Linked DNA regions of Homo sapiens: region 1 is linked to region 2. The links are contacts of gene promoters, found by promoter capture Hi-C in blood cells and fetal thymus (Javierre and others, 2016). All regions are on one chromosome and are shown on one strand. The core of a region is centred on a gene start or on the middle of the fragment in contact, and the rest is flanking DNA. Distances in the headings are between cores, read along the strand shown. Region 1 holds the start of EHBP1-AS1 (EHBP1 antisense RNA 1). Region 2 overlaps LINC01798 (long intergenic non-protein coding RNA 1798).

What was found. The method cuts DNA at HindIII sites, captures the fragments that hold promoters and counts their contacts. A CHiCAGO score of 5 or more calls a contact.
Region 1: a contact is called between the fragment with the promoter of EHBP1-AS1 here and a fragment that was not itself captured in region 2, in 2 of 17 cell types (naive B cells and total B cells). The highest score is 13.5, in naive B cells.

What each region holds. Positions count from the first base shown.
Region 1 is chr2:63,045,193-63,051,168 of GRCh38, forward strand. It overlaps EHBP1-AS1 (EHBP1 antisense RNA 1), which reads right to left and starts at 3,329. Exons shown (of 4, transcript NR_033389.1): 1 at 3,197-3,329; 2 at 1,290-1,458; 3 at 845-949; 4 at 1-251. It overlaps EHBP1 (EH domain binding protein 1), which reads left to right. Exons shown (of 23, transcript NM_001142616.3): 23 at 218-1,295. The coding sequence ends at 308. It overlaps OTX1 (orthodenticle homeobox 1), which reads left to right and starts at 5,638. Exons shown (of 5, transcript NM_014562.4): 1 at 5,638-5,705. RefSeq lists enhancers at 1-531, 2,641-3,389, 3,368-4,776, 3,390-4,139, 4,140-4,887 and a silencer at 5,004-5,663. The HindIII fragment of the contact is 1,878 bases long and covers 1,869-3,746 here.
Region 2 is chr2:66,577,606-66,583,754 of GRCh38, forward strand. All of the region lies in intron 1 of LINC01798 (long intergenic non-protein coding RNA 1798), which reads left to right. Among named protein-coding and RNA genes, the nearest start is that of LINC01798, 6.6 kb to the left of the region's middle. RefSeq lists an enhancer at 629-2,238. The HindIII fragment of the contact is 1,485 bases long and covers 2,240-3,724 here.

The DNA of each region.
Region 1 (5,976 bases), core at 2,079-4,578, 3.5 Mb before region 2:
TGGGGTCGGGTCGAGGCTGGGCCACCTGCCGAGGGGCCGAGAAGTGTGCGGAAAGTTCAATCCAGAGGTCGCGGGAGGGCCGGGGCAGCCTCCCACTGGCCTGGTGCTCCCCATTCCCGCTGGGGATCCAAATACTGGGCGACGGGGGAGTGCTGCTCTGCCCTCCACGAAGAAAAATAATTTTGTTTCCTGTTTGTCCTGTTTGTCTGACATCCAGGGCCGAAGAAGAAGATGAGCATTTGGAGCGAACTCTGGAGCAAAACAAAGGCAAGATGGCCAAGAAAGAGGAGAAATGTGTTCTTCAGTAGCCATCAGATCAGAAAGAATCTCTCCCAACATTTTAGAGTCTTGCTTCCCAAACCAGAAAAAGTCAGACTCATTGTTGATTTAAAACTTTTAACATTTTGTTTGGCTGGATTGTACTACTTTACCTCTACTTTACCACCACCACCCTTTTCCTCCCTCCTTTCCAAATAATATACAGAACTCCAAAATAGCTTCATTTAAGGATTTTTTTGTGAGTTAACAATTTCCTTGAAATCCTGTGAAATAGATTTGCACAGACACCTTGTGAGTGATTGGTATTGGAGGTGTTCAAGAAACTGTTCGAAAAAGAACAAAAACACTTCCCTCGTTATTTTCTCTCATTTTTTGATGAGAGGAAAATTTGAAACATTATTCTTGTTGTTGTTGGTAATAGCATAATGACAGTGGGAGGGGTACAAGGGGATAAGAAAAATGTCATGATTTTTTTCCGGTCCTGCCACATGTAACACTTACTCTGTTACCTAAATTTTATAGTTAGATCATATCCAATCTACTTATTAAACTGTGTTCTATTTACCAGTGGAGTTTTTCTGCAGTGGTTGCGTTTCACTGTAAGGATAATGGAGTTCCTCTCCTCTGCTTTCCTCAGAGGATGGTCCTTTAACATAGCCAGAAACAAGCCCTGTGGTTTGAAGGTGAGCTGTGAGGATGGGACTAATTGATATGCACCAGTTTACAAAGACAGTCTTATCATCCGAGAATACACCATCTTTTTCTCTGGATAATTATTTCTTACATCATGCTTGATTCCTACATTTTGTTGGGTCTCAACATTGGCTCACGAATGCTGTTAATATTTATTCTGTATTGATAAAAAGTCTGTCTTGCCACTACAAGTAAATCCCCCATTTAATATTTTCTTCTTTAGCATAGCACTGTCATTTTTTGTGAAAATGGTTATGTTTATTTATTACAATACTGAGTCATATATAAATTTTCAATAAAAGCAGAAACTTTCTTACCTTAAACACGGCTGCTACTTTCTTGCAATGAAAACTTGACATTGGCTTGAATGGAAGTTTGTCTATCCGTAAGACTTTTCATGTGGAAAATGGTCCTCTGGAACTTAGGGCAGGATACTGGGCTGCATTTGAAGCTGAATAAGTTTACACCATCCCAGAGGGGGCCCTACTGACACACGAATGCGAATTGAAAAGTAATTAGTCATATTCTTAAGCAGTATAAACTATCATGTCTTTTGTAAAGGGTCATCTCTGCTAAAGATTTGAGGAAATTTGTGATTCCACACCAATGAAAAACCAATATTTATATCTTGAATTTTCCACGTCATTACTTTGAATTGTTAGAGTTTTGAAGTCGTATTAGGGAGAGTCGTGTCTTCTGATAACCGGCAAGTCTGTAGGTACTGAAGTGAAAGGAAGAGGGTTATTGTTGGGGGGCGGGGAGAATGTATGCAGGTATGTGTGTATGAAATGAGGGAAAGAGAACTTTTAACAAGAAGTTCTAGGCTACAGAAAAAAAAAAAAAGCGATTCTATGCTAGTTTCCTTCATTCCCCCACAGGGGTGTCCAAACAAAGAAAGCTTGTTCAACAAGTCCAGAAACTTAGAGAAAAAAGTCCACTAGCATTTATACTTCAGCGTAGATCGTATGTATGTGCACACAAACAAATTTCGTTCCAAGTATGCAGCCACCTCCAGTTGCCAGTCTTTCAAAATGATAAAAACTTGCTACGGTAGAATTCCTTCATGATGAGCATTTCTTTTAAGTTATTGAAAAGTTATTTTAAGTAAATGAAGTCGGTATTTGCCCTCTTTATTCGAGCACGAGAGCAGAGAGAGAGCTGCTGCTCTCTGGGGAACGCTCTCAGAATCCCGTTCTAACCCCGGGAAAACTCAGCAGACAGAAATCGCCCGCCCCAAGCAGCCTGGGGCCTGGGCGGCCAACAGCACCCACCCAGTTTACGCTTGATTCGAGGAACCTTCACTCCCGAGGGGCCTCGCCGAAAAGCAGCTCCTTCGCTCCCGAAGCCGCTCCCAATCGGCCAACTGACAACCCTTCCCTCGCCCCAGATTTGCTAGGATGGTCTGGGACCGCCGGGCGGCCCCTCTACCTGCCCCTTCAGCTTTAGTCCCGAGCCTCTCGGGGTTTCAATTTGGGCTGCTCGGTGGCGCCCGAACGCCCCTCAGCGGCGGTGGAGCGTGGACTCCGGCGCCTGGCGGGGTAAGGCCCGCGGCAAGGGCGCTGCATCCGGACATCGCTGCGTGGTGCCCAGACGCTGGCTCCCGAGAACGGGCACGAGCCCAGCACGCCGGAGGACCCGGAACTCGAAAGCCCGCGCTGCGGGAAAAGAGACTATCGGTCCGAGGGTCGCAGAGGAGCAGGGGCGTTGGCAGCGGGCTTGCTTGGGCACAGTCTGCGGGCCGGAGCAGAACTTCCGCCCCTGGTCAGATCCCTCGGCCTCAGATCCAAAGCCCTCCCCTTGTCCCAAGTGTCCTCCAGAGCCTGGCCGGGCCTGGAGGTCACCTGGATGCTGGATCCTTGTCTCCACACCCAGCTCCCTCGCCCCTTCCCGGCTCGAGGGCCTTGAGCTGGACGGCTTCACCTCCTCCAGTGGTGTCCCCACTTCCCCTTCCCGCACCGCGGCCGATGCTGGAACGGTCATGGCTTCTGGCCCAGCATCTCCCACCTGGACATTTGCCTAGCGACGGCCGCCTCAATCCTCTGCGCTGCTTTCAAGAAACTTTCATCCCAGTCTCTCTCCCTCTCCACTCTCCTCCCTCTCCCCCTCTCCTCTTTCTTTTCTTAATCCTGGGGTTTTATGGGCTGAGCGTTAAGAAAATTCGCCTGCAATTTGGGATTAGATAAATACTCTAATTAGGAAAAAAAAAATCCGTGCTACTTGATACCTCCCAACTTCCCCGAGAATGGTGGCAGCATCTGGAACCGAGAGCGCCGGCCTCCCGCGAGGCGTACCCCGGGGACCGCGCTGGCACATTCCAGAGCGCACTGCCGTCCCACCTCGCTGCGCCGGACCCAGGTCAGGTGCTGAGGCTGCAGGCGAAACAGGGCCTGGTGGAGGGAGGAATGAGTTAAGGTGGAGGAATGGGGCAAGGTCACGCGCCCCGGCACTGGAGGGCCAACCCCGGCACACAGCGGACTGGCCGGGACTAGGGCAGCGCCGGGCTATGGACGCGGACGCCGGCGAAGCGCACCCCGGGACGTCCGCATATTCTTTCCCCCAAAACTAGTGCGCTCCAGCCGGCGCCTTTCCTCGGAACCTAAGGAAGGGGTATATTTCGTTGCTTTCTTTAAACCTCAGCACGATCACAGTGGCTCCGAGCCGCGGGCGGCTGACCGCGGGCCTCGCGGGCTACTCCTGGTAGGGGCCTGCGCGAGCCTAAGGTGTGTCCCCGCCTGGGTTAGCGCTGCGCTCTGCACTGTTTCTTTTCCTCTTAAAGCTTCTTTCTCACTCACTCTCTCCCTCCTTCTCTCTCTCATTTTTTCCCCATTTCTCTCGTTCTTTTATTCAGCTTTCTCTCTTTCTCTCCCTTTTGTGAATGGGCCGCGGTGTCTTTGTTCTGTAGAGAAGCGCCCGTGTCGCTGACTTTTGTGAACCAGAGAAGGATCTTGTAAAACCTCCTTTTCTCCTTCGTACGCCCCCACTCCCACCCCTCCTCCCCTGCCTCTTTGATTAGATGTTCCCTCATCGTCAAAAAAAAAATGTAATTTCGTTGGTCTGGCGGCCACTTTCTTTGAACATTAGCTCGCTTTCAGCTCCAACTTCAATTAGAAGGAGTTGATTTTGAGAGATCAACAAAAGAACCGACCAAAGCCTTATTAAAGGTCCTAAGAAGATCTCCCGGGTCCTTTGAGAAGCAGTTAAGGAAACAGTGTGCCCTCCATCATATTCTGTTACCGTATTTTATTCGGACTCCAAAGGAAAGTGTCGCTTGGGGGAGGGGGAAGCACTTTGATGAGCGGCGGCCGCGGCCCCTTTTCACTCAGCGGGCTCCCCCTTCGTTCTCCTCCTCCTCACCCAGCGCCCGGTCCGCTCTCGGCGCCCGACCCCGCAGCCCGGGCAGCGCGAGTGCTCCCCACTGCGATGCGCCTGGAGGCTCCTTGACTTGCCCTCACACTTAATCCTGTGCAAACTTTTTACCCCGCCTGTCGGGGTGGGGGAGTGGGGGAGATTAGAAACAAGGGGTAGAAATTCCTCGAAAGGGAATAAAGTGCCTAATTTTCAGGAGGAGGTGCCATTTAAAAGATTCGCCTAGCTTAGAGTTGGAACGAAAACTCTTTTTTGCACTTTTAAAAGTCCACCCAGGTAGACGTGTTTGGGAAGTTTTTTCGGGTGGGAAATGGGCTTCGCCCGTACGAACAATCCGGGGAAATCGCCTCAAGGAGGATCCTTACGCAGCATGTGGAAAAAAGTTGAGGGCAGGGGTCTGTGGCCACATTTTCCATCAAAAAGTCCCTGTTAGAGGCAGTCTAAGAAAGAGAGAGAAAGAGCGAAAAAGAAACTTTCCTATCAAAATGTTTCAATTAAGAAGTAGGGTGTACGTGTGAGGGGAAGAGGACGCTGGGCTCCAACGTTTCAGTAGAAGCGCTTAAGACTTGCAAACACCCTTGGTGGGGACCTGGAACCCCGGGAGATGCCGACGAGCAAGCAGGTAAGTGGCGGCGCCCTCCCAGTGGGTGCTCTTCCCAGGCGCGAGAGTCCGGAGGGGCCGAGGAGAGATCTGCACGCCCGGAGCTGCTCCCGCGCTCTGCAAAGTAGCCTGCGCCGGCACGAGCAGCCCGCGGCGTCGGTCTCAGGTGGCGGCGCCGGGGAAGAAAACGCTGGGGCCCGCGGCGCCGGGAGAGGGGCCGAGGCCCGGGCTCCTCCAGCCCGCCGCCCCCGGGTCCTGGCGCCCACACCCGAGCGGCTGAGCCCTGTAGCGCGCGGGAGAGCGAAGGAACCGGTTCTCCAGCACCTCGCCTCCTCCCTGCCACTCCCTCCGGAGCGCCGAGAGCGCGAGAAGGGCGGGGGCGCCCAGGGCAGGCCTGGAGACCCACGGCCCCCTCCGCGGCCAGGACTCGGGCTCTCCGCTCGCCTTCCTCGCCTAGCTCTGCGCCGCTTTTGCCAGCCGAGTCCCGGAGTTAGCGCGCGACCGGGGCGGGGCGGGAGGGCGGGGAGGGCGGGGTGTGGGGGGCGGGGGAGGGCGGGGGCGCGCGGAGGTAACCCCCGGCTCGCGCAGCCATTGCCCGGCTCCCTGTCACTCAGCCCGCGCGGGGCCCCCGATTGGCGGCCTAGCCCCGTTACGCACTCGCCTCGCGTTCACATACCCGGGGAGGGCAGTAGAAAGGTGATCAATCTTCATCAGGCTACATTTCCAATCACCTAAACAACCGAGCAAGACAAGCCACTCCGACAAGGTAAATCGCTTGATTTATTTAGTTTGCAAAGTGACTCTGCAGGACTTCCCAGTCCCCACTGCCTCCACGTTGCACCGGGAGTGCCGCGGCAACGCCGAGCCACCTCCCAACTCTGCCCCTCGAATTCCCCCCCTTGCGGCCCCTCGGCGCGATCCCAGGCGAGGCAATGTCCTGAGAACGTGTGGGGCTTAGCAAACAAAGTGTCTGTGCAATAAAGTGAAACCCAGAAGGACACGCACAAAGCCATTGAAAAAAAAGATAGAGGTGGGAA
Region 2 (6,149 bases), core at 1,732-4,231:
TTCAGGCACCCGCTTGGCCCGCTCCTCCCGGTGGGGGCCGTGTGTGGCAGGGAGCGCCGAGCGGGGGTCCCTAGCTCCACGCCGAGGCGGACCGGGCAGGGGTCAGAAACCCTGTGTCTGTTTTCTGCGGGGTGACGACCTCCTGTAAGGGTGGGATTGCTTTTGCTTGCTTTCCTTCTCCCCTCCCTCTGCCTTTCTTCCTAGGCCTCCCTCACATCTCAGTACTCTTTCTTCCTCCTCCCCTCCCCCAAAGTGGCAAGTTCCCCTTCTCCACCTAGTGTCCAGAGGTTCTGCCCCTCTCCTAGTCCCCCGCTGCCTCAGGGCCGTCGCAGAAGTCTGGTAGCCCGACGCCTTTTTGCGCCCATCTACCTCGCCCACCTTTCTGGGCATGGGTGGGGTGGGGAATGTTCAGTGAGGCCCTTTTGAAGCCGCTTGCTGAGGGCACCCTGAGGCTTTAAAGAACCAGATTTCTCGATTTAGGGACGATCTCTGCGCCCATTGATAACTCCATCCCAAAGAAACCCAGCACAGCAGCAAACACCCCCAGCAGTCGCCTGCTCCTCAGCCCCCGCCTTGGCACAGAGCAGCGTCTGGCACTGCGGGGAGATGGAGGCGAGCCACGCGCACCCGTTCCCTTACTGGCCGACCCGCGAGGCGCCAGCTTGTTCTGGAGACTCAGTTTCCACTGGACAAAAGCAGGGGAAACACAACGCAAGGGCTGTGCAAATCCACGTTCCCGACGCCCCTCCACCCCATCCCAATCTGATTTTTGAGACGTGCATTTTCAGGTAGTCCTAAACTGTGAACAGCGAGCTTTGTGTGTTATCTAGTGGGGGTGGGGATGAAAGGGGAGGAGACTCCCACTGCCCGTTCCAGTCTTTAATGTTTGAAATAACGAAATGCCTTGTGTAGCAGCTGCTGCTTGAGCCAAAACTAACTCTTTGGAAGACGGAAAAGAGTGAAAGGCAAAGAAAGACTGTTCATTTTTTTTCTTTTGGTGCCGTTTGGGATGTCATCTGTTTCCTTGGCGACTGTGTTCAGCCCCCGGAGCCCCTGGGCTCCTGGATTGTTAGGGGGGAAAAGCATGCTATTTCTGCACCGTCATTTATCACTGTCACCGCATAATGATTCCCCTTGCAGCCCCTTATTGATGTTTGTAATTGCATTATCTCATAAAGGAGGATGATCAATGAAACCGAGCCGTGCATTCTGGGGTCAGAGGAAGCCAAAGTACTGTTTGTCCCCTTTAATACAACAAGTACTCATTATCTTTAGGTCTGCATTCAAAAAATGATCTGATCTAGGGCTGACCCTGTCGGACATCCCAACACTTTCTAAAACGCGGTTTGTGTAACCTTTTGCTTAAATGCTAAATCAAGTACCTGTCTTGCATTTCAACGAAACAAGATGCTAAAACTGAATGAAAAAAAAGCATTTCTTTTTTTTTTTTCCCCCTGGGAGGGGTGCGATCGTCTGAAGGTGCATGAGATTTTACACTGTAACTGCTTGGTAATATAATACAGAAAAGGCAATCCCAATCCACATGAGTCCTAATAAATAGAAAAAAAATTGGGGATGAGGGGAAAAAGGCAGGTAGCTGGGAGCTTTTAACAAGGTCGGTACTAAAAGATCAGAATAAAACCACATCCAGTTTAATTAATAATAGCTATAAACTGAAATAATTCCCCATGATTCTGCCCTTGCTTCTCCTTTTTACAGAGTCATATCTCTTCAGTTTAGAGAAATGACTTTTGTGGCTGTTCGATTCTCACAACAACAATAACTAAATCAGTTGCACACTGTTATCTAAAACCATCTACAAACTCCAGCAAATAAAAAGAAGTTCATTTGTCTATTAAGGCAAGCATTTAGTTGAGCAGAAATATCCCAGTAACACTGAATAGAGTTCGTGTAATCCTATGGAAATCAAGTCATCTTGTTGCACTGAAGTAAATGAAAAAATACAAAGGAGAAAAGGTCCAAGTGTAATTGTAATTTTAAACTAAATGCATTATTGGACTGTCACAGTGAAAACGTGATTGTTCGGCTGCGGGGGGGGGGGCGGGGGGCGGCGAGTGGACATAAACTTAGCTCACATTTAACTTAAAGGTTTCAGAAAGGAAATATGTATTCCATATTTGGTGATCATTTGTGGAAAGAGGAGAAATTGAAACAATTCTAACCCATCATTTTAGTATACTAGGGGGAATCATTCCTTCAAAAGCAGAATTAAGCAAAAAGCTTATTTTAAACATTGCAAGTCTGTATTAGCAGAAAAAAAAAGTTTCAAATTTTCTGAAAATGTATGTCCTCTCTATGTTAATAAGATGTTGACAGAGAGAAAGAGAGAGAGAGAGAGAAACTAAGTTCAGGTGTTTTATTTTTTAAGTTCTAGATACTTCTAAATTAACGATATAAATTAATGTTTTACATAAAAAGATCTAAATGAAAAGTTTTCATTATAGTTGAGAAAATGAGTACTTAGAGTGTGCTCTGATAATTTGACACATTGACATAAAACCTTAAATTGAATAATAAAACAAACGGCTAAAATATTCCCCCTTGGAAAAATAACTTTAATAATAAAGCTAGAAAAGTTTTAACTGTGTTGAACCATCACTTTTTTCTCTGGAAGGCAGATTATCCTAAAGAGTATTATTTTCCAGAAATTCTGTCAAGGCACTTTGAAATAATATATGTTTGTATTATTTAATATTCTGACACTTCCGTTCTTTGAAAATGCTCAGACTGGAATGGATACGTAGCCATGCATATATTTAATATAAATGGTATCTTGTCGTTAACATAAAATATTAAAGAGAAAATAAAACTTTGGGCTTTGTCAGTTAAGATAGAATTTTTTAGCATAATACTCTGATTTTCAAAACATAAAATTGAAACCCCTTGATTTTAACCAATCAACACAAGTCTTTCTCTTATTTGGTTGGGGATCTGCATCATATACTCTTTCTATTTTTAATATTTAGTGTTGTAGCCCACTGTTAAAATAATGAAAAATTAGTCTCGTTTCAAAATTATTTATTTATGGAACGAACATGATTAAAACATAAACACACAAACTGCAGCTGCAACAGAAAAAAAACTTGATTTATGGTTATTAAATCTTTGATCGCCATGTTAATGTTTCTTTTTCTACCTTTCATTTGCATTTTAATCTATCGAATCTTTACAGTTTTGCTGCCTCCTATTTCAATGATTGATTACAGATCTGAAATAAGAAAAACCAAGCCTAGCTTTTCTTTTCCTTTCTTCGCTTTCTTTTTTCTCTTTTTCTTTTCCCCCCCTCCCTTTCCCCCCGGGTAGATTTCTGAAACTTTCTCTCAATGCTAATGTAGACAGGACAAATTAATTCTGCTCTTTTAAATGTCAAAGATATAAATAAAAAATGTTTTCTGTCCCAAACGTGAATATTTTCCCAGCTGCTTGTTTTCGAGTCGTAAAAGATCATCCCAGCAAAATGCAATTAACAGCGAAACACACACACATACACTCACACACTCGGCGGTGCGGAATTTTTTTAAAGGACGTGTTGTTCTGAGTTGAAGAAAGGTGAGAAGTTCACCGTCCCTTCACCATCAGTAGCCTCGCTGCGGCTCTCCTCTCTCTCTCTCTCTCTCTCTCTCTCACACACACACACACACACACACACTTGGAGGTTTGGTCCCTAGTTCTATCTGTGATCTAAGTCACACAAACAAAAACAAGCTTGGTGGCAGCTTGTTGTTGTTGAGTGTTGTTGAGTTGATTTCTTGAGATAAGCAGTGTAAAGACAAAAGGGGGAGCGATGCAGGTCTGTTTGTTTTCTTTCCCCGCCGCCCCACTGTCCCTTTTCTCGTCTCCCCGCGCACCTCCCCAGACGCCCTGCCGGGGTGGCTCCGCGGATGAGGCGGTCATTTGCTGTCCGCTTTGCGGGGACGGGTCACTTTCCGCGCTGGCGTGAAAGCAAATGTGGAGCTGCTTTTGGAAGGCGCCGGCCGGACGTCGGCTAGGCTCCTTCTCCCCGCGGGCTGGGGGCCCTGGGGCTCTGCAAGGCTCTGGCTCCGAACAGATTGCGCCTCCCGCCTGGCTGCCAGTAGGAACTGGGGTGGGAGCCGCGTAACTAACAGTTGCGCGCAGGAGGCGAGCCCCAGGTGTGAGCGCAGAGGCTCTCTCCCCAGCCCGCGGGTCTGGGAACCTTTCAGGACGCCTCCCTCCCCAACTCCTACCCATGCGTCTGCTCCCTAGGCCGAGCCCCCCTCGTGAGGTTTTAATGACCGCGGACGCAGGGGAGCCCGCACTTGAGCGAGGACCGACTTCTCTGGCGGGTCCACGCTGCTCGCGCTTGCGTCCGCGGGTAGCGCGCTGTGCCCGGGTCAGGGGGCGAGCTGCGAGAAGTAGGAGGGGTCAAGACCCCCAGAAATCCCTCCATGGGCACACACACAATCAAGAATAGGGTTGAGGGTCTTGAGAGGTAGAACTACCCTAGGCAGGGCTTCTCCAACTCGGCCTTTGGACCCCGCGCGCGCCCAAGGGCGTGCCCACCGCGGAAGCACAGATCATCTTCCCGGGACTGGGTCTCCTGGACCCTGCGTTGCTCCCTTTTTCCTAGCGGCCCCGTAGCTGGCTGCCGCATGTAGGGCGATCTTCATTAACTTGGACGCCCAACGTGATTGAAATAGAGAGGAGGAAAAAACACATTTGATCTGGGCCGACCCTTTGTCTTGAAGCAGATTAGGCAGCCTAGAAATAGGAGGAAAAACAGAAAGTCTAGGCAGGAAAACTTATTGTGTTCACAACATATAAAAATGATCCGAGCGGTCTGGTACCTCAAGGGGTGAAGATAGATCCTTGTAGACGAGTGTGAAGACATGACTGGGAAGATTTAAAGTGAAAGAAACGGCAGATTATTAAGAAAGTAATAGTAAGGTGTCCCATACACTACAGTTTTATTGTTGGGTAGTAACTACCCGATTTATTTATTGCCGGGGCTATATAATAGAGATAATGACCACAAACTCAAGATAAATTCTTATGCGCCCAGCCGGTCAATTCTTTTTTATTTAAGAGAGTGAGCCTGAAGGGTGAGCCTCATCCCCTCCCCTCCTCGAAGATCCGTCTTGCTTTCTACCATATTATAAGCATGACATGCAAATAAATAAGTGCTGCTGGGTCTGTGTGGGTAGGCCGGCAGGATTTATTTCAGGTGACGGAGGAACATACACGGAATATGAATTTCCGCAGGAGTGGCGCCGTGATTCCTTCCCTCTCCCTCTCGGCCGCCCTCTCCTCAGGGTCTCCCTCCTTTTCTGTGGGAGCAGAGAGCATCCCCTGTTAAAAACATTAACGTGTCATGTCTCAGCTCCCTATTCCTTGACATATAGGTCTGGGGAGGGATGGGGGCACTGCAAAATGCAAAACGCATGCCCAAAGTAGGTTGACTTGCTGGGACTGCTCAAAGCGATTCTGGTGGACAAAGAGAAGGGTGAGTTGTAATTATGACTTCCAGTAGGGGAGCAGTATAGGAAGTATGTTAATATCATTTTGAAATATGCACAATGGTCCAAAAGTTTACTGTCCCGGATCTGGCATGGGTCCTCCCCAGCCGGATGGACCCCAAGGGGAGCCCTCCTGGCACCTTGGGACATGCCCGCCTCTCTTGGCCCTCGGTTTCTCTCTCTGGGAGCCAGGTAAACACCCCCCTGGCCAGGTGATGGAGTTAAAGATGACCTTGCTCGTTGACCGCCAAGGTCGGAAGAGAGCTGGCGGCCTCAGGTGTAGGTTCCACCTGACGCCCTGGCTGCAATCATAGTCACCGGCTGGCCTTTAAGGGGGCGGCCTCCCAGAACTGCTCTCCCCACCTGCACTCTGCGACCACTCAGGCAGATCCGGAACCTGCCAAGACGAAGTCAGTCAGCATCCTCTTCCGATCTTCTTATTTTCTTCCTCATTTTTTGGATAATATTCAGACATACAGTGTTTCAGTCTCACAATAACCACTTACATGCAGAACTTCCTTTGATCTGTTTGGCCAGAGTCGGGGGGAAACACCTGACAGTGAAGAACTGCGATGAAAAAGAGGGGTTCAGGGGAGATGGGAGAGCCAGACGCGTGGGGCGAGGGAGAAGGAGGTGCGTGTGGGGAGATGGAGA